4 separate regions of the Homo sapiens genome follow, and all the other regions are linked to region 2. Evidence: promoter capture Hi-C in human tissues and cell types (Jung and others, 2019). All regions are on one chromosome and are shown on one strand. Each heading gives the region's core, a stretch centred on a gene start or on the middle of the fragment in contact. The rest is flanking DNA. Distances are from core to core; before and after follow the strand shown.

Region 1 (4,619 bases), core at 305-2,804, 420 kb before region 2:
CCCCAGCTTCCAGCCCCCAGCCCAGATGCCAGCCCTCACCTCGCCTTCAGTGGATGGCTCAATCTCTGAGTAGCGGGACTCACAGACTACATCATCCCAGTGCCGTGGGGGTGCTAGTGGGACTCCTGGGAAGTCAGCCCCACAGTCATAGGAGAAATATCGGTACACATGCCAGGTGCGGCCAAAGTCTGCTGAGCGTTCCACCAGCATGGCAGCAGGGCGAAATGTCTGGGTAGGGGGGCATAGCTGATCAGCAGGCACCAGGACCCAAGCCCAACCCAGAGCCATCAAGAGCCCTGCTCAGCCCAAGACTGCCCTCAAATAGCTCACAGAGAGTGGGGGTGACTGGTGGAAGCCAGATAATGACCAGCAAAGGTAGCCACCTCTAATGGGGAGACTCAGGGTTCATGGGGCTCAGGGAGACAGCGCCTGACCCAGCCTGGGATTGGAAAGGCAGAAGAGCATGTGCAAAGGCCTGGAGGCAAATGGAAGGTGTGAAGGGATGAAGGAGCCTCCTGCATCCATGCTCAAGGAGGCTGTGTTAAGGAGCTGAGGCTCTGTCCAGGGGCAATGGAGAGCCAAGCAGGGTGATTCGGGCAGGCTCCCAGATATGCAGGCACCTTGAAGGTCATAATGAGGTGTGTGAAATGAAACTCAGCCTCCAGGTCCAGCTGGATGGTGACCGCAGGGATACCTGGGACAGGAATCGGAAGTCAAGGACTCAAAGCTACTGGTGGGCAGCCCTGCTCACTTTTGCCCCACCCATGGCCTCACCATTCTCTGACTGCCACCAGGCTGCCCGCCGCTGTGGTGCAAAGCTGGTGACTACATTCTGGATGCGATGGCTGTGTGGGTTGTCTCTAGCAGAGAAGGGGCGCCGGGAGTCACAAAGGAAGCACTTCTTTTCGTCCTGGGTTGGATGGGGATTAGAATCAGTGCCTCAGGCAGTGCCAGCCCCACCCTGACTCGGCGTCACACCCTGTCCCCAGCCACACCTGCAGGTGACTGACGATGCAGTAGGGCTGGGGGCCATTCAGGCCACAAGTGGATGAGGCAGTCAGTCTGTCAGCTCGGCCCACCAGCAGGTCGCCCGTGGCGGGGTAGCAGCTTCCCCTGGAACAGCCAGGCACATCCGGGGCAGGGGCCTGTGCCAGTGTGGCAGCCAGCACTGGGGACAGTAGCTCAGTCAGTTCCGCTGAGTTCCTATCCAGTGGCTCCACCTCATGTGCCCCAAGGGCAACTACCAGGACCTACCATCACATTCCACAACCCCCAGCCCCCACCAGGCCCTCTCACCGCTTAGCAGTAGGCCCAGTCGAAGTTCCCAGGGCAGAGGCTGTCCCCTCCCTCTTTCCCTTGAGGTCAGCTCCATCCTGAAGAGGGGAACAGGGATAAGGGGAGGTGAACGGTCTCGGGCCCGAGCCCTCCTCCTTGCTTTGGGGTTCCGTGTCAACTCTGCCTGTGGGTCTTTGGCCTGTTTCCCTCCAGGCCCTCTGTCAGTTCCCAGGTCTGTCCAGCGGTCCCTCCGACAGCTTAGAGTCCAGCGACTTTGAGCAAAGTTGGGAATCGCGGCAGGAAGGAAAGGCCGGAGCGGATTCTGGGAAGGAGCGCAACACCGGGCGGAGAGCGCCCCCACCCCAACCCTACCCCTTCCCTCCGGAAACTGCCTTCGCCCCAGGAACCAGAGACAGACCACTTCACCCACAAATCTTTATTGTGCCCCCAAGCCCACACCTATACGAGGGCCAGGGGAAGGTAAGGGGTTTGGTGCTTTAAACTATCCTTGGAAGAGGGCTCACGAAGTTGGGGGCATGGCAGGAGCAAATGAGAGATCTTCGGGATCTCCAACTCTGGACCAAGGAGACCGTAGCCTTTTCCCCTCAGCGTCATGGGCGCCGTGGAAATTACCATCAACTCAGCCGTTTGATCCCAGGGCTCCAGCATCAACAGAGAGGCTGGAGGGCACAAGCAGGAGCAACACATGCCCCTATTCAGGGCTGTGGGGGGCTCTCGGGTAGTCCTAGGGACTGGACAGAATGGGGCTGGGGGAGAGATGGGGAAAGTGCACACCCAGCCCGAAGCACAGCTCCAGGGGGGTCACTGCCTCCCCCACTAGTCACTACGGTAAGTAGGCACGAGAAGTGCTGCGGGTTTCCCTGTATGGAAATAGGCTCTGGGTGGTGGACCAGAGCTACGGCGAGCGACTCCGGATCTTGTGGCTATTTATCCGCTCCAGACTTTTTGGCCTGCCGGGATCGCAGGAGCCTGGGGTTGGAATGTGCGCGGCGGCGTGGAGGGGGAGAGAAGGAGGAAAGTGGGTGGGGGATATGGGGCGCGCCCCACCCAGGGCCCTGGGAACGGGAAGCTGGGGGAAACATGGGGTCCTCCGGTCTTTAGGGCTGGGTCTGGCCTGCCGCCTCCACAGTCCCGGCAGGGAGTGCCCTGAGCTGCCATCCAGGGAAGAAAGCTGATGATAGTTCCTCAGGGGAATCACCCCACTTCACAAAGGAGCATGGGGGCGGCGGGGGTGGGGGTTGGGTGAGGGTTGGGTGGGGGTCAGTCAATCCGTTGGACTTTAGGCATCGCTGGGAGTTATTCTGGATATCCGGAGTAGAGGTCTCCAGTCACCCTGAGGATCATGTAGTCAACCTGGGGGATCAGGGATACTAGAAATTACTGAGAATTTTAATTTTTTTTTTTTTTTTGAGACAGAGTGTCGCTCTGTCACCCAGGCTGGAGTGCAGTGGCGAGATCTCCGCTTACTGCAACCTCTGCCTCCCAGGTTCAAGCGATTCTCCTGCCTCAGCTTCCCAAGTAGCTAGGATTACAGGCGCCCACCACCACGCCCAGCTAATGTTTCTATTTTTAGTAGACATGGGGTTTCACCATGTTGGCTTGGCTGGTCTTGAACTCCTGATCTCAGGTGATCCTCCCGCCTCTGCCTCCGAAAGCGCTGGGATTACAGGCATGAGCCAGTAAATAGTGCCAGGCCCCATCTATTTATTTTGAGTGGAGAATGCCAGCACTGTAGTCTCACAGTTTTAGATCACTCAGAGATAAAGGTGTATCAAGGTCTGGGACACTAGATGGCCTCAGGGAGTTACATGATCTGTCTGCTTTCTCAAGGTCAGAGGGCCACTGGGGGACATCGTGGGGCCACATGGGGGGGTCACTCAGGGTCAGTGGGCACTCAGTAGGATCTTTGGTCTCCCAAGGCCAGGAGATTCCTGGATCACTCTAGGGCCACTTTGAGTTACCCAGGTGATCCCACAGTCCTTCTTAATGGCTTCCATAGACAGTAATTAGCAGGTGGCATACTTATTGGTGGCAAAGCACATCATGTGCCCAAGCAGCTCAGCTGCCTGCTGCTCCAGGGCCTGCAGGGTGGCTGCCTTCTTGCCCAGTGCCTGTGCATTCTGTGTCAGGCGGCACTCCAACCCTGGGGTCAGGTCATCTGAGCCAGGCTCTGACCCCTGGCTCTAACCTCTGATCCTGGTCCCAGTCTCTATCACAACCCTGACCCTGACCCAGCCCTAACCTTAAATAAACCCTGAACCTAATCAACACTTGATCCCTGGTCTAAACCTTGACCCTAGCCCTGATCCCTACATGAGTCAAGATCTGATCTGGACCCAGCCTTAACCCTTCCACAACATCCCTATTCTGGCCCTGACCTTTCCATCTGACCCTAAGCCGTTCCCTGTGCCTGCCCTATTGCAGGCCAGCCATGCACCATGCAGGCAGCTGAAGCTGCTTTATGCCTTCTTCAGGAGCTCCTGGGCCTCAGCTCAAGCCTGCTGCACCCATTCTTTTGCATCCTGCACAGTGGCTACCAGGCCATATGTGTCCTCCTGCAGCTCGGCCACAGCCAAAGGGGCCACCTACAACTCCTAGGGCAGGGCTGGACCTGAATCCCCACCCCACCCAGAATATATTGCCTCAAATATATTACTGCCTAAGGTTCCTGGAGAAAAGGAGAATTTAGAACTGAGATCCCGCCTCAGTCCAGTATAGCCCAGCCCCAGCCCAAACCCCACTTTCCACTGTTCCAGAGGGGTCCCTGAGACCCCAGTGCCCACTCTTCCCCATTTCATCTTGCCCAGGCCCTCAGCCCTGCCTACGACTCATGCTGCCCATTCTTCTGCCTCCTGGGCCTGCTGCTGACTCAGGACAAAACATGCCCTGAGCACCTTAGCTACACTGGACAGACGCCCTGGGACTGGGGTCACCTCAACTGCCAGTGCCATCTGGGCCAGGCGCCCTACTACCTGGGGCAAAGGTTAGGGGGTCACAGAGAGGACACAGCACAGTAGCAACTAGGCTGAGTGTTATCACGGTCAAGGTACTTGGTAGCACTGTGGTATCATAGTGAGTCAAGGATCTCAGGGAGAATGGAAATCACAGCAGTCATTGAACAAGGGATGTAAAGGAGCTGAGGGTACAAGTAGGGTATCACCTCCTGTACAGTGCCCTCCAGGCCTTCAAGTGCCAGCTTCACTTCCTGTAGCCCTTGCTCTGCGGCCCCTGCATGAGTTCCATTCCCCCCTCAGCCAGCACCCCCTGAACATCCAGTGCTTGGTGCTGGGCCCAGGTTGTACCCTCCTTGAAGAACACAGGTG
Region 2 (4,601 bases), core at 635-3,134:
TGTCCTGGTGTTTTACCTACATCAGGCTGGGTGCATTGACTCATGCCTGTAATCCCAGCACTTTGGGAGGCCGAGGTGGGAGGATCACCAGAGGTCAGGAGTTCAAGACCAACCTGGCCAACATGGTGAAATCCCATCTCTACTAAAAATACAAAAACTAGCCAGGTGTGGTGGTGGGCACCTGTAATCCCAGCTACTAGGGAGGCTGAGGCAGGAGAATCATTTGAATCCGGGAGGTGGAGGTTGCAGTGAGCCGAGATCACACCACTGTACTCCAGCCTGGGTGACAGAGCGAGAGTCTGTCTCCAAAAAATAAAAATAAAAAAAATAAAATGAATAAAAAATAAAATATCTACATCAGCCACTCTACCCTTACAATCCCCCATATTCGAGGAGCTACTAAGATTCTAACTTTGCAGAATAGGAAATGGAGGCTCAGTGAGCCTAAGTCAGTTGCCAAGGGTCCTATCGGGGCTGAGGTGCAGACTCTTTTGGAGCCTAAATGTGCACATGTAGTCACCACTCACGAAGCTGTATCAAACATCCTGCAGCACAGGAGGAAACACAGCAAGGACCATCATCTGCAGGAAGAGAGGCTCTCTTCATCCTAGGTCATCCCAGAGGGGCCAGGCAGTTTAGCGTGAAAACGGGAGGTATGAAGTCAGGAGAAAATATCAGGAAGTGGGGGCTCTGCATTTCCTCTTTCTCTTACTTGCTCCATCCCAGAGGTCGGGAGGAGCAGCTCGGAGTGCACAGGGGAAGGCCCAGGGAGGGTCCTGGCCCCTCCTCACAAGAACTGACACAGCCACCGGTCTGTCCAGCAGGCTGGCTATCAGCATTCACTGGGATCCCTGGATTATTCTAGGTTCAGTTAGAACTGCTAACACCCTATGTGATATATTTCGCAACATTAGGAGAATTGAATGGGTTTGTAAAATGGGTTCAAGTTACTCACGCCTTTCTACACAGTCATGATTTATGACGTCAGAGATGAACTGGAATATAGGCTCCTAGGAAATATTCTCCCACAGGAAAGTACAGGCTTGTGTGAGAAGCCACCACGGCAGACAATCCTGAGTAGCGGGCAGAAACCGGCTGTAAATGTGAGGGAGCGGGGAAGTAATTTGGAAAGCTCTCAGGGTAATGCAGAGGCAACCTGCGGCCCCGCATCGAGACAGCTCCAGGCCTGAGAACCATCAAGTCCTCTTTTCCATCCCCAAGGTCACTCTCCCAGGGCTGACTGAGGTGGCCTCCCAGCTGGCTTCACACAGCCCTGTCACACCTTCCATCTGTGCCCGGGGCGCTTCCTGAGACTCCCAGTTCCTCAGTGTGAATCCCAGATGGTTCCCATCGCCATCTGGATAAAGGCTCCACTCCCCAGCTGGCCTTAAAGACCCTCACAATCCGGCCCGACCACCCAGCACCCTCCCTCTCCTTCCCTCTACGACCTTGCGTCTCTGAATACACTTGTTCCTCTGCCTTCCCAACTCCTATGCATACTTTTGAGGCCATTCTCGGGTAGCCCCTCTCCTCTCCGAGGCCTGTCCTTATGACGCCTGCCCGCTGTGGCACTCCGGTTACCCGGAGGAGAGTTGCTACTCTCGAGTTCACCGAGGCGGAAAGCCCCTCTGACTCCAAAGCAGGGCTCAGCGCGACGTCCCAGAGGCCGCTTCTAGTGGCAGGTGCCCCTCCTCACAGGGCCCTCGCAGCCCCGCCGGCCCCCGCCCGGCTCCTTCTCAGCATGATACAACCGCGTCGGCCCTGGACAGCGCATGCGCGGGCGCCGGCGGCTGTTTCCCAGCGACCCCGAGGCTGGCGGGAGCGCGCACAGGGGAAGGGGGGCGTGTGCAGGGAAGGGGGCGCGAGACGCGCATGCGCAGCGGCAGGCGGCGGCGCGAGCCGAGCTGGGAGATGGCGGCGGCAGCGGCGGCGCCGAGAGTGTGAGCACCGCCCGGGAGCCGCCGGCCCGGGCGCAGCGCGACCCCGACCCCGCCCGCCCGCCTGCCCGCCATGGGCAACGAGGTCAGCCTGGAGGGCGGCGCTGGCGACGGGCCGCTGCCGCCCGGCGGCGCCGGCCCCGGCCCGGGCCCCGGCCCCGGCCCCGGCGCAGGAAAGCCGCCTTCAGCACCGGCCGGTGGCGGACAGCTCCCCGCGGCGGGAGCAGCGCGGTCGACCGCGGTACCACCGGTCCCTGGCCCCGGCCCCGGCCCCGGTCCCGGCCCTGGCCCGGGCAGGTAAGCGCGTGTCTCGGCGCCCGGGGGGCGGTGAGCTGCAGCCTGAGGCCGGGACCCGGGCCCAGGATCCCGCGATCTAGTGTGGACAGCGAGGTTCGACGTCCGGCCGCACTCTGAACCCTGCCGGATTGGCGTGAACTGGGTGGTCGCGGGAAGCGGCCCTTCCTTTCCAGCTGCCCCGCCTTGGCGTGGCAGGATGACGAGCGCAGGGTCAGTCGGGGCCTGCAGACCGTGACTCCGTCACGAACCCCAAATTCGCTTCTCCCCAACGCTCGGGCCTGACTGCTCAGGAGGGGCTTATGTAACCTTAACCTGGTCCCTCCGCACAGGAGAGCAATGGGATGGAAAACGTCCTCCCTGTCTGCTGGTGTCTGCATGTGTCCATTGTGCTGGGCCGAGAAAACAGCACAATGGGAGTGGCTGTCAGGGAAGATAAGTGTCACTGCGAGGAACAGAGAGATGAAAATAGTTGAACCATGAACTTGGTCTTGGGCTTTCCTTGGGCATTTAGTGGCTGTAATCACCTTTGGGGGAAAGGAAAATTGCCCACTGGACACCAAGAGGTGCTTATTTAGGCCCAACAATACTAATAGGATCATGTGCTTTCACCAAGGTTTAGGGAAACATTTTGGGGTGAAGCAAAAATGCTATTGAGTCATCCAGCACCAGATATGTTCTCGTTACCTTATGATTTAGATCAAACCAGTGGAAAAGCTGAAACCCACACAGAATGCTTTAAACAGAACATATCTGATTAAATACTGTGAAACCAGTTTGTTTTAAATGTATGCCAACCCAGGTCCTGCAAAAACAGTCAAGTGGCAATGAAGGCTGTAAGGGAATGCCAATATATAATAAGTCAGTAGACTGAAAACTCAGGAAAACTACTAAGAGATGACACGATAAAATGGAAGGCATTATCTTTGCACCAAATAGGCTTGGGGAGTAGCAAAACCCCCAGGGGGTGGGAGGGAGGTGCTTCCAGCTCCATGTGGGTCTGCTGATATATGTTGCCCTGGCTTTTCTGTGTGGAAGCACATAAACTGAGGACGCATAATTTTTTATTCTTTGGCTGCCCGACTGTGCCTCTTGTGTGTTTATTTCCTCAGAAGTCATTTCTTAGACAACTAACAGTAATGAAAGGCTGTTAGTAGCTTGAAACCTGCGGCAGACAGGTCAGCCTGTGAGCATCCTTTTTAGAGGTGGGATTTGTCCATTTTATACTAGCTATAATAGTAATGCAGTTGGATAGCACACAGCTCTTAGCACTGCAAACACTGTCCATTTTGCTGCATGTTGAGTTGCTGTTTGGGTTTTAGCTTGAGGGAGGCTCACCCAGGCTTTAGTGTTCTCCTTCCAAGGGAAAGCTTCTGTAGCTGAATGGAAAAACACCTTGTTATTGAGAGTTCCCTGTATGGGGAATTTGTCATTTCTCTTCTGATAACCAAACAGGCTGCTCTGCTTGTAGTTTATCAGATGTTGCAGAGCCAATCATATGAAATTCTGGAAAGACCTGGGCAGCTCAGAGGGACCGGAAGGAGGCTGATGTCTATTGCTCATATGCCTTTTTAGTGTTTCATTTGTACTTCATCTGTACATTCTGCTGCAGGCAGACCCATGAACTGCTGTGGGTGAGGCGAACCACGGACTCCTGATGGATTTAGTAGTCACACAATCTCTTACCTGGCTGTGGGCAAGGCTCATACCTGAGCCTGTGGTGCTGAGGTCCTGTGACTATCAGACTCAGGAGGTGAGCTGGCTATTTGTCCCCAAAGCTCAGAACCAGAGACCATTAGGAGGTGGGATTTACTCCTCCAGCTGATATTCATTTTATCATAGCACCTCAGCTGAGCAGCAGCTCCATGGCTTATCTCTCCTTTAGTATTGCAATGGCTTCTACTTCCTCTCACTAGAGCATCTCAGATACCTGATGCCAAATTTAGCATGTTCTAAGATGCTGCTGAACAGATTGGCCCATTGATGGGGAAAAAGCCCTGTGAATGTGCTTCTGGGCATTCAGGAAAGAGCATTAGCACAAAGACATATTTGCTTTCAGTAAGATTTTGAATTTCGGGGCAGTCAGAAACCTCATAGAGGTGGGTAGAAGGCCAGGTAAAAGGGAGATGATTCTGGGGGAGTTAAATGCTATTGCCATATTACCTTGTCATCCCAGGCTGAATTAGTCTTTTCATCCTCATACTGAGCTGAGTTGGACTCTGTGAGGGGGTGGCTCCAGCATTTGCTGCTGAAGAGCCTGACTTGAATCCCATGAGTAGCAGTGCTGCCACACCCATAGTGGTGCCTCTTAGCCCGTCGGGATGATGTGGAGCTTTGGGCATTGGAGAGTCCCTCAAGGAAGGGCTCTCT
Region 3 (4,838 bases), core at 925-3,424, 470 kb before region 2:
ATTTCCTGAGCAAAAAGGCAAATAAGCTAGATATTCAGCTGTCAGAAAAAATAAAAGCTTCAAAAAGTTACTTGCTATAAACCATCAAAATCCATTCTTTAAGCCTTCCATTTAAAAAAAAAGAAAAAAAAAGCCGGGCACGGTGGCTCACGCCTGTAATCCCAGCACTTTGGGAGGCTGAGGTGGGTGGATCACGAGGTCGGGAGATCGAGACCACCCTGGCTAACACGGTGAAACCCTGTCTCTACTAAAAATACAAAAAATTACCCTGGCGTGGTGGCAGGCGCCTGTAGTCCCAGCTACTCGGGAGGCTGAGGCAGGAGACTGGCGTAAACCTGGGAGGCAGAGCTTGCAGTGAGCCGAGACCACACCACTGCACTCCAGCCTGGGCGACAGAGCAAGACTGCGTCTCAAAAAAAAAAAAAAAGAAAAAAAGGCCAGGTGTGGTGACTCACGCCTGTAATCCTAGCACTATGGACTTTGGGGGGCCAAGGAAGGTGGATAACCTGAGGTCGGGAGTTCGAGACCAGCCTGACTAACATGGAGAACCCCCGTCTCTACTAAAAATACAAAATGAGTTGGGCATGGTAGAGCATGCCTGTAATCCCAGCTACTTGGGAGGCTGAGGCAGGAGGATCGCTTGAACCTGGGAGGCGGAGGTTGCAGTGAGCCAAGATCGCACCATTGCACTCCAGCCTGGCGACAAAGTGAGACTCTGTCTCAAAAAAAAAAAAAAAAGGGGGGGGGGGAGCCTGGGATGATGGTGCATGCCTGCAGTCCCAGCTACTCAAGAGACTGAAACAGGAGGATTGCTTGAGTAGTCCAGGAGTTCTGGGCTATAGTGCTCTATGCCAATCGGGTGTCCACACTAAGTTCAGCATCAATATGGTGACTTCAAGGGAGCAGGGAATCACCAGGTTGCCTAAAGAGGGGTGAACCACCCCAGGTTGGAAATGGGGCAGGTCAAAACTTCCATACTGCAGTAGTAGAATCCTGTCTGTGGATAGCCACAGCACTCCAACCTGGGCACCACAGTGAGATCCCATCTCTTAGAAATAATAGTAATAATTTAAAAGACAAACAAGCTTGAGGTAGGAAAAATTCCATAAAACCATTAGAAAATATCAATACTAAGCTTGGCATGGTGGTTCTCGCCTGTAGTCCCAGCTACTTGGGAGGCCGAGGCAGGAGGATAGGATGGCTTGATCCCAGCAGTTTGAGCCTGCAATGAGCTATGATCATGCCACTGCACTCCAGCTTGGGTGACAGAGTGAGACTCCATCTCAAAAAAAAAAAATTAGCCAGGTGTGGTGCTGCATACCTGTAGTCCCAGCTACTTGGGAGGCTGAGGCAGGAGAATCGCTTGAACCCAGGAGGCACAATCTTGGCTCACTGCAACCTCCGTGCCCCCCAGGTTCAAGCGATTCTCCTGCCTCAGCCTCCCGAGTAGCTAGGATTACAGGCACCTGCCACCGTGCCTGGCTAATTTTTGTATTTTTAGTAGAGGCAGGGTTTCACCATCTTGGCCAAGCTGGTCTTGAACTCCTAAACTCATGATCCACCCGCCTCAGCCTCCCAAAGTGCTGGGATTACAGGTATGAGCCACCGCACCCGGCCCACATCCGGCTAATTTTTATATTTTTAGTAGAGATGAGGTTTTGCCATGTTGGCCAGGCTGGTCTCGAACTCTTAACCTCAGGTAATCCACTCGCTTCCACCTTCCAAAGTGCTGGGATTACAGGCATGAGCAACCACACCCAGCCTAAATTCTTTTTTATTTTTATTTTTATTGAGACACAGTGTTGCTCTGTCGCCCAGGCTGGAGCGTAGTGGCACGATCCTGGCTCACTGAAACCTCCGCCTCCTAGGTTCAAGCAATTCTCCTGCCTCAGCCTCCAAAGTGGCTGGGATTACGGGCACCCGCCACCATGCCCAGCTAATTTTTGTATTTTAGTAGAGACGGGATTTCGCCATGTTGGTCAGGATGTACTCAAACTCCTGACCTCAAGCGATCCACAGCATCGGTCTCCCAAAGTGCTAGGATTACAGGCGTGAGCCATCACATCCAGCCAAGATTGTGAGACCAGCCTGGCCAACATGGTGAAACCCCATCTCCACTAAAAATACAAAAACTAACAGGGCATGGTGGCAGCCACCCGTAATCCCAGCTACTCTAGAGGCTGAGGCAGGAGAATTGCTTGAATCCGGGAGGCGGAGGTTGTAGTGAGCTGAGACTGCGCCACTGCACTTCAGCCTGGGGAAAGAGTGAGACTCCACCTCAAAAAATGATAAAAAGGAATGCTAACAGTAGTTATGCCTAGATGATGGAACCACAGAGTAATTAAGTTTCTTCTGTTAAACACTCTTCTGAATTTTCCACAAGTGGTATTAATCTAAGGCTCACGCCTGTAATCCCAGCACTTTCCGAGGCAGGCAGATCACCAGATCAGGAGATCGAGACCATCCTGGCTATCACGGTGAAACCCCGTCTCTACTAAAAATACAAAAAAATTAGCCGGGTGTGGTGTTGGGCGCCTGTAGTCCCAGCTACTCGGGAGGCTGAGGCAGGAGAATGGTGTGAATCTGGGAGGTGGAGCTTGCAGTGAGCCAAGATCGTGCCACTGCACTCCAGCCTGGGCGACAGAGCAAGACTCCGTCTCAAAAAAAAAAAAATCATCTTTTTCTACACAGTGGCTATAGTGTAGTAATGGTAAGACACATAATTCTGGCTGATCATAGTATGATTTTCTTTCAAAATCTGAAAGAAACTAAACCGGCCGAAAGAGGTGGCTCATGCCTGTAATCCCAGCATTTTGGGAGGCCGAGGCAGGCGGATCACCAGGTCAGGAGATCGAGACCATCCTGGCTATCACGGTGAAACCCCATCTCTACTAAAAATACAAGTGGTTATAGTGTAGTAATGGTAACAGACACGTAATTCTGGTTGATCATAGTACGATTTTCTTTCAAAATCTGAAAGAAACTAAACCTGCCGAACGAGGTGGCTCATACCTGTAATCCCAGCACTTTGGGAGGCCGAGGTGGGTGGATCACCTGAGGTCAGTAGTTTGAGACCAGCCTGACCAACATGATGAAACCCCGCCTCTACTAAAAATACAAAAAAAATTAGCCAGGTGTGGTGACACGTGCCTGTAATCCCAGCTACTCGGAAGGCTGAGACAGGAGAATCGCTTGAACCTGGGAGGTGGAGGTTGCAGTGAGCCAAGACCATGCCACTGCACTCCGGCCTGGGCAACAAGGGCAAAACTCCATCTCAAAAAAAAAAAAAAGAAAAAGAAACTAAACCATAAAATACCAAAAACTTGTACAAAATAATGAAGACTTAACTTCAAGATGCTGCACATAAGACACAAAAGTTGAGCCTTCGTAATAAAGAGAAATGGAGAAACTTCTAAAAGAGACAAAAGATTCTTAATTAGCTCCAAGTAAAAGACTTAGTAAGAAGCAATAAAGAAATTAATTAAAGTATTTCTGAAAAACATGCAGCCATGAGGATATCTGAGTGTTCCCAATTTCTGGGACTCTGATGAGACTAATAATGAAAAAAGAAAATACTCTAATGCTCTTGGGGTGTATGAGGTCTGTAAACAAGCATTTACTTCTAAACGCTTTTAAATATAGCTGCATTGTAAAAAAAAAAAAATAAGTAACAATAAAGGAAAGCCAGCCCTCCCTTAAACAGACCCTGGACATTTTTGCTGGTATAAAATCAAATTGTTCACTGGTATCTCCTCTGTATCTCCCTCTTTTTCTTTTTCTTTTTTTTTTTTTGAGATGGAGTCTCACTCTGTCGCCCAGGCTGGAGTGCAATGGTGCGATCTCGGCTCACTGTAAGCTCCACCTCCTGGATTCACACCATTCTCCTGCCTCAGCCTCCCAAGTAGCTGGGACTACAGGCACCCACCACCACGCCCGGCTAATTTTTTTGTATTTTTAGTAGAGACGGGGTTTCGCCGTGTTAGCCAGGATGGTCTCGATCTCCTGACCTCGTGATCCTCAGCCTCCCAAAACTGGGATTACAGGTGTGAGCCACTGCGCCTGGCTCCTCTGTATTTCCTCCTACTGGAGCTTAGCATAGTGCCTGATGCACAGCAATTCTTCACTACATGAGTTATTATTTTTATTATTTTATTATTAGAACATAAGATGGTACCATGGACAAAGGTTACTCCAAAACAACAATCTATTACATTTCTATAGGTCTGTTTGCTAATTTTTTTCTTTTTTCCGTTTAGGTACCAAGGGAAGATCTTATTGCAATCACTGTTTCTTGGGTTTCTTATCCCTGATACCTCTTTTGGGCCCCCTGTATGGCTCTGCAGAGTGAGTCTTCAATCCGTGATGGACTAAAAGAAGTCTGAACTGCCTCAGAACCTTACCTCTTCCTTGGGCTTTGAGGCCCCTCAAGGTTCACATCTACTCCAACAATGGCTCTTCATAGCTTAGTCCAGTTTGAATACATTCATATGGGGCCCGGTGCAGTGGCTCACGCCTGTAATCCCCAGCACTTTGGGAGGCTGAGGTGGGCGGATCACCTGAGGTTGGGAGTTCAAGACCAGTCTGGCCAACGTGGTGAAATCCCATCTCTACCAAAAACACAAAAATTAGCCAGGCGTGGTGGTGGGCACCTGTAACCTCAGCTACTCGGGAGGCTGAGGCAGGAGAATCACTTGCACCCAGCAGCCGGAGGTTGCAGTGAGCCGAGATCGCGCCACTGCACTCCAGCCCGGGCAACAAGAGCAAAACTCTGTCTCAAAAAAATAAAATAAAATAGGCCAGGCACAGTGGCTCACGCCTATAATCCCAGCAGTTTGGGA
Region 4 (4,609 bases), core at 1,750-4,249, 440 kb before region 2:
TGGCCTACCCTAAACAGCTCTCAATCCACATGCAGCTCCGCATGGAGGTGGGAGGGGAGTTATCTGGTTAGTATTTCAGTCCAGGCCTCCCCAAAGGACACCGATTCATAGAGAACAGGACTGCCAATCCCAGAGCAATCTCCTTGCTCCTTCCCACCCATACCCAGATCCTGACCAGTCTTCTGCAAGGATTTCTCTAAGCTTGACAGAGAAGGCTCAAGAGAGGATGGAGCCAGAAAGGAGACGGCCAGTCCAGAAAAGAGATGTGCCTACGCCCACTAACTGGGCCTATGGCACACCATGTCACTAAAGAGAAGATCCTGAAGGCTCAGCAAAGACAGATGCTTACCTCAAAGAGTATAACAGCCACCAGAGGCCATGGCCAGCCCAAATAGGCCTTGTCTTGAGTGCACACTAGAACTCAGGGACATCACAAGTGAGGGTGTGTGGGCCAGCATGTGGGGAATGTGCAGAGGAAATCTAGGAGAGTGTCAGGTATAGTTCATTCACAGCATAGTGCCCAGTGAGGTTCAGAGCAGTTGCCTGACCTGTGCCAAGTAGGTGCCAATGTGCTTGCCAGTGGCAGCATGTTAGTGTACTTGTATGTTTGTTAGTGTCCCCAAGGCATGGGGATGCCTCTGGCTAAAGCTTTGATGTTAAGAGAACTCTGCAATTCTCATGAATCCCAAGGCTCAATGGGCCTGTGGCTGGAGGAGAGGAAGCTATATCCCCCAACCCGGCCCCAGTCTGTGAACTGTCCCCCAGTATTCTGTAAAGCCTCCCACATGCCTCACCTGGCTGGCAGCAGCCTCAGCTGCAGGGCCTAGGTCTGGGTGGTGCTCAGAGTGACCTGCCCTGGGGGGCCTCTCCACAGGAGAGTTCCGCCGGCGGTAGAAGAGTACATAGGCATAACGCGTCACAACCTGGCTCTCGTCTACCGTTGTCACTGTGCTGTCATCAAACAAGCGCCAGCCTACAGCAGGGTGGGAAGAGTGTGAACAAAGTCTGCACCACCACCCCTACCACCTATCCTGCTGGCTGTGTGTGCCCTCACCCACGTCACTGCGCTGACTGCTACGATCATTGGGCAGGCGTGCACAGGCAGTGTAGTGGCCACCAATCATGCCTCCATAGTGGTTGATGACAGCATATAGATCGTAGCTGGGCAGCTGCTCCTCTTTCTGACCAATGCAGAACTTGCTCAGGTCCAGGTTCCTGCAGGTCAGGTCCAGTCAGGGAGGGGTGAGACAGGCAACAGGCGCTCAGGATGCCCATCCTGGTCCTCACACCCCACCCACAGTTACCAAGGTCCACTGCTTACCTAACAGGGAACTCCACCAAGTCATTGATCTTGTCACGCCAGATAAAACTACGAAAGGAGAAGCGCTTGAGCTGCACGATGAGAACATTTGGCAGGCGCCATAGCAACAGCTGCTTGGAGGCCTCACGGTGCTGTTTGCACTGTGGGCAGTACCTGGTGGGGACAGAGATTGGGTCAGGACCAGCAAGTCTCTCTCTTCTCCATCCTGCCCCCTTATCTACTTGCTGCTCTGTTCTCACCAGGCCTCCTCGGGTGCCAGCACCTCAGGCCGTGTGAAGAGGTTGAGGCACTGGTCCAGGGTGAAGTGGCCGGCCCGGGCAGCCTCACCGGCAGAGCCTGGATCCTCAGCACATTCCAGCTCCTTGGAGGCTACCAACACAAACTCCTGCAAGCGCTCATTGTTCCGCCAGACGAGAGCCAGGCTACAGTCGTCACCCAGCTCCAGTGGGGTGTCTCCTGGAGATTCGCAGGGAGAGAGGTCATGCAGCTGTGGAGAACAGCCAGCTCAACCCACCCCATGGCTCCCACCCACAGCCTCAGACACCTTTGTCCTCTAGCCGCTGCTCTCGGTTGGATGAATCAATTTTATAGATGAAGAACTGGGGTGTGTGGGCATTCATAGCTTCACTTGGATGCTGGTACCCAGGCACAGCAGCTGTGTGAGAACATGATAATCAAAGCTTCCCTGCCCATCAGGGCCTCACCAGGCCCACCAGGCCCTAAACAACAGCCCCCTCCATCCTCCCTTATCCTCCTCCCCAGCTTCTAGAGCCTTTCACTGGATCTTACCTTCGGGTCGGGACACCCTCTCGCCAGCTGGCAAGGAGCCAACCTCAATGGGCCCACTGGCCAGCATCTCAGAAGAAATTCCACTGGTGCTGGGCACAGGACCCCGGTCAGGGGCTGCCCACACCCGGGGAAGCCCTGTGTCCCCCTCAGCCATAGGGGTCACCAGCTGGAGCTCAGGTGGCTGAATGGGGTCTCTCTCGCTGTCCCCAGCCTCCAGGGAACCTGTGGAGAGCAGTGTGGTGCAGCCAGGGCTCTGAGACTCCAAGGCCATGCGGCCTGGCTGAAAGGGTGGCTGGAATACACTCACAGAGTACCTGGCAACAGAGAACAACGCAAGTAAGACTCCTGACCAGCCCATCTAGCACCTCTGCCCCCACCTACACCACTCTAGTCCAACCACTGGGCACTTACCGGGCATAGCCCTCTAGCAACTGAGCGAGGCGGGCATAAGTGAGGCGTGAGGCAGGTACACTGACCAGGAAGGGGTAGCCAATGTTCTCAGGTCGGCAGAGGCCCTTGTGGTCAGGCCAGTGGGTTTTCTGGCAGAGCCTGACGGGAAGAGGAAGACAAGGATAGGCCCTTAGCCCCATCTCCTATGACTCCATACTGGGGGCTAGTCATAGTCCCTGGGAACTGGGTACGCCAGCCCTGCCTCCCCCAGAGCCTGGTAAAGTAGGGTGGCAAGTAGAAAGCTTAAGCATATGTGCCTTGGTGTGAAGGGAAGGAGCAGGGTGGCACATGGAAGGTGGAAAGAAAGGGTAGGGGAGACCATGGGGGTCCTCACTGGTTGCAGTAGCCCACACGGTAGCACCGGGTACAGCGCTTCAGCTTTTCATCCTCCGACTGTTGCTTCCGCTGGCAGGCTGCACACTTGGAGATGGGGACGCTGGGCACCTGGGGGCGCTAGGGTGGGTCGTCTGGCTCAGCAAGACCAGGAAGAAGTGCCCCACCCACCAGGGCGCTGTGCCATCAGGTTGGCCCCCACTCACCTGTTGCACCTCTAGCACCACTACCCGCTCCTTAGCCAACTCTGAGGATAGCAGCTCAAAGCAGAGGAGCGTATCAGATGGGGACACAGTGTCCAGTGAGTGGGAGGGTAGGAACACACGATGAAAACGATTCTTAATTACCTGGGGACAGAGAACACACAGATCCCACGTGAGGATAAGCCCTTTCCCTAGCCCTGCCCCAGAGTTTAAGAAGGCTTGGCCCTGCCTTGGGTCTATGTGGGCAGTGGTGAGGTCTGTAGGCCCAAATAGGCTTATGCCTCTGCTGGCACCTGTCTCAGTGCCCAATGCCATAAGGAGCCTGGTGCATCAGAGGGCCTGAAAGACCAGGTGTGAGGCAGATATCAACCACACCAGCTCTCCACACTGAGGGACTCTGCCCTGCTATAACTAGCATAGCCTTATAAGACTGTAACATATTATCATGGAGGGTCCACATTCAAAGAGCCTCCTCCCCACTCTTACCCCTAAGAAAACCAACACTGTCAGGCTAAAGGCTAGGAACCCCTGGGGAGAGCTAGCACACACAACTGGGATAAAAGGAGAGAGCAGCAGGATAGAGGGAGAGGCAGAGCGAACATAGGGATAGTCCTGCAGCTCAAGCTCCTTGTCTAAAAAGGGAAATGCAGTTGGGATCCACCACCACAAAGGGGAATAAACCCTGATAATGGCTAGGAACTGAGGGCACTTCTGTTGCACAGAAAAAATAACAGCACATCGCCTGTTTTTGTACAGTCACAGGCATACTCATGTGTATGTCTATTTTTATTTTATTTTATTTTATTTTTGAGACAGAGTCTCACTCTGTCACCCAGGCTGGAGTGCAGTGGCGCGATCTCGGCTCACTGCAACCTCTGCCTCCCAGGTTCAAGCGATTCTCCTGCCTCAGCCTCCTGAGCAGCTGGGACTACAGACATGTGCCACCACGCCCGGCTAACTTTTCCTGTATTTTTAGTAGAGGTGGGGTTTCACCATGTAAGCCAGGGTGGTCTGGATCTCCTGACCTTGTGATCCATCAGCCTTGGCCTCCCAAAGAGCTGGGATTACAGGCATGAGCCACCACGCCTGGCCCTATTTTTATTTTTTTATCTATTTATTTATTTATTTTTGAGACAGAGTCTCACTCTGTCACCCAGGCTGGAGTGCTGTGGTGCAATCTCTGCTCACTGCAACCTCCACATCCCGGGCTCAAGTGAGCCTCTTGCCTCAGCCTCCCAAGTAGCTGGGACTATAACACGTACCACCATGCCCAGCTAATTTTATTTCTTGTAGAGACAGTGTTTCACCAAGTTGCCCAGGCTGGTCCCAAACTCCTGGGCTCAAGTGATCTGCCCACCTCGGCCTCACAAAGTGCTGGGACTACAGGCATGAGCCACTGTGCCCAGCCCATGTGTATGTCTGTAGATGCCAATGACTGTACACACGTCTGTGGTGAGTACACACACACATCCACACATGTGATAGCCCAAGGAAGGACAAAGATACCTCCGCC

The links. The method cuts DNA at HindIII sites, captures the fragments that hold promoters and counts their contacts. A contact is called where the count stands out against the background at its distance.
Region 1: a contact is called between the fragment with the promoter of LAMB2 here and the fragment with the promoter of BSN in region 2, in 1 of the 25 tissues and cell types used here (mesenchymal stem cells).
Region 3: a contact is called between a fragment that was not itself captured here and the fragment with the promoter of BSN in region 2, in 1 of the 25 tissues and cell types used here (dorsolateral prefrontal cortex).
Region 4: a fragment that was not itself captured here is called in contact with the fragment with the promoter of BSN in region 2 in 3 of the 25 tissues and cell types used here (dorsolateral prefrontal cortex, lymphoblastoid cells and spleen).

Annotation. Positions count from the first base shown.
Region 1 is chr3:49,131,496-49,136,114 of GRCh38, forward strand. LAMB2 (laminin subunit beta 2) reads right to left here and starts at 1,555. Exons shown (of 32, transcript NM_002292.4): 1 at 1,297-1,555; 2 at 996-1,168; 3 at 775-910; 4 at 621-694; 5 at 40-228. The coding sequence starts at 1,372. It overlaps LOC124909377 (a long non-coding RNA gene), which reads left to right and starts at 1,373. Exons shown (of 2, transcript XR_007095905.1): 1 at 1,373-2,124. RefSeq lists enhancers at 13-828, 1,646-2,461 and a cis regulatory region at 2,995-3,208. The HindIII fragment of the contact is 11,964 bases long and covers 1-1,793 here.
Region 2 is chr3:49,552,593-49,557,193 of GRCh38, forward strand. It overlaps BSN (bassoon presynaptic cytomatrix protein), which reads left to right and starts at 1,885. Exons shown (of 12, transcript NM_003458.4): 1 at 1,885-2,234. The coding sequence starts at 2,011. It overlaps BSN-DT (BSN divergent transcript), which reads right to left and starts at 1,774. Exons shown (of 3, transcript NR_038866.1): 1 at 1,449-1,774; 2 at 956-1,095. RefSeq lists silencers at 1,693-1,992, 2,063-2,272. The HindIII fragment of the contact is 7,009 bases long and covers 1-4,583 here.
Region 3 is chr3:49,082,483-49,087,320 of GRCh38, forward strand. All of the region lies in intron 1 of QRICH1 (glutamine rich 1), which reads right to left. It also overlaps the pseudogene RN7SL182P. Among named protein-coding and RNA genes, the nearest start is that of QRICH1, 9.2 kb to the right of the region's middle. The HindIII fragment of the contact is 6,032 bases long and covers 1-4,838 here.
Region 4 is chr3:49,109,390-49,113,998 of GRCh38, forward strand. USP19 (ubiquitin specific peptidase 19) reads right to left here. Exons shown (of 27, transcript NM_001199161.2): 17 at 4,603-4,609; 18 at 3,100-3,240; 19 at 2,895-3,013; 20 at 2,522-2,659; 21 at 2,111-2,424; 22 at 1,866-1,976; 23 at 1,561-1,777; 24 at 1,322-1,474; 25 at 1,055-1,215; 26 at 795-973. Among named protein-coding and RNA genes, the nearest start is that of QARS1, 6.9 kb to the left of the region's middle. The HindIII fragment of the contact is 5,151 bases long and covers 425-4,609 here.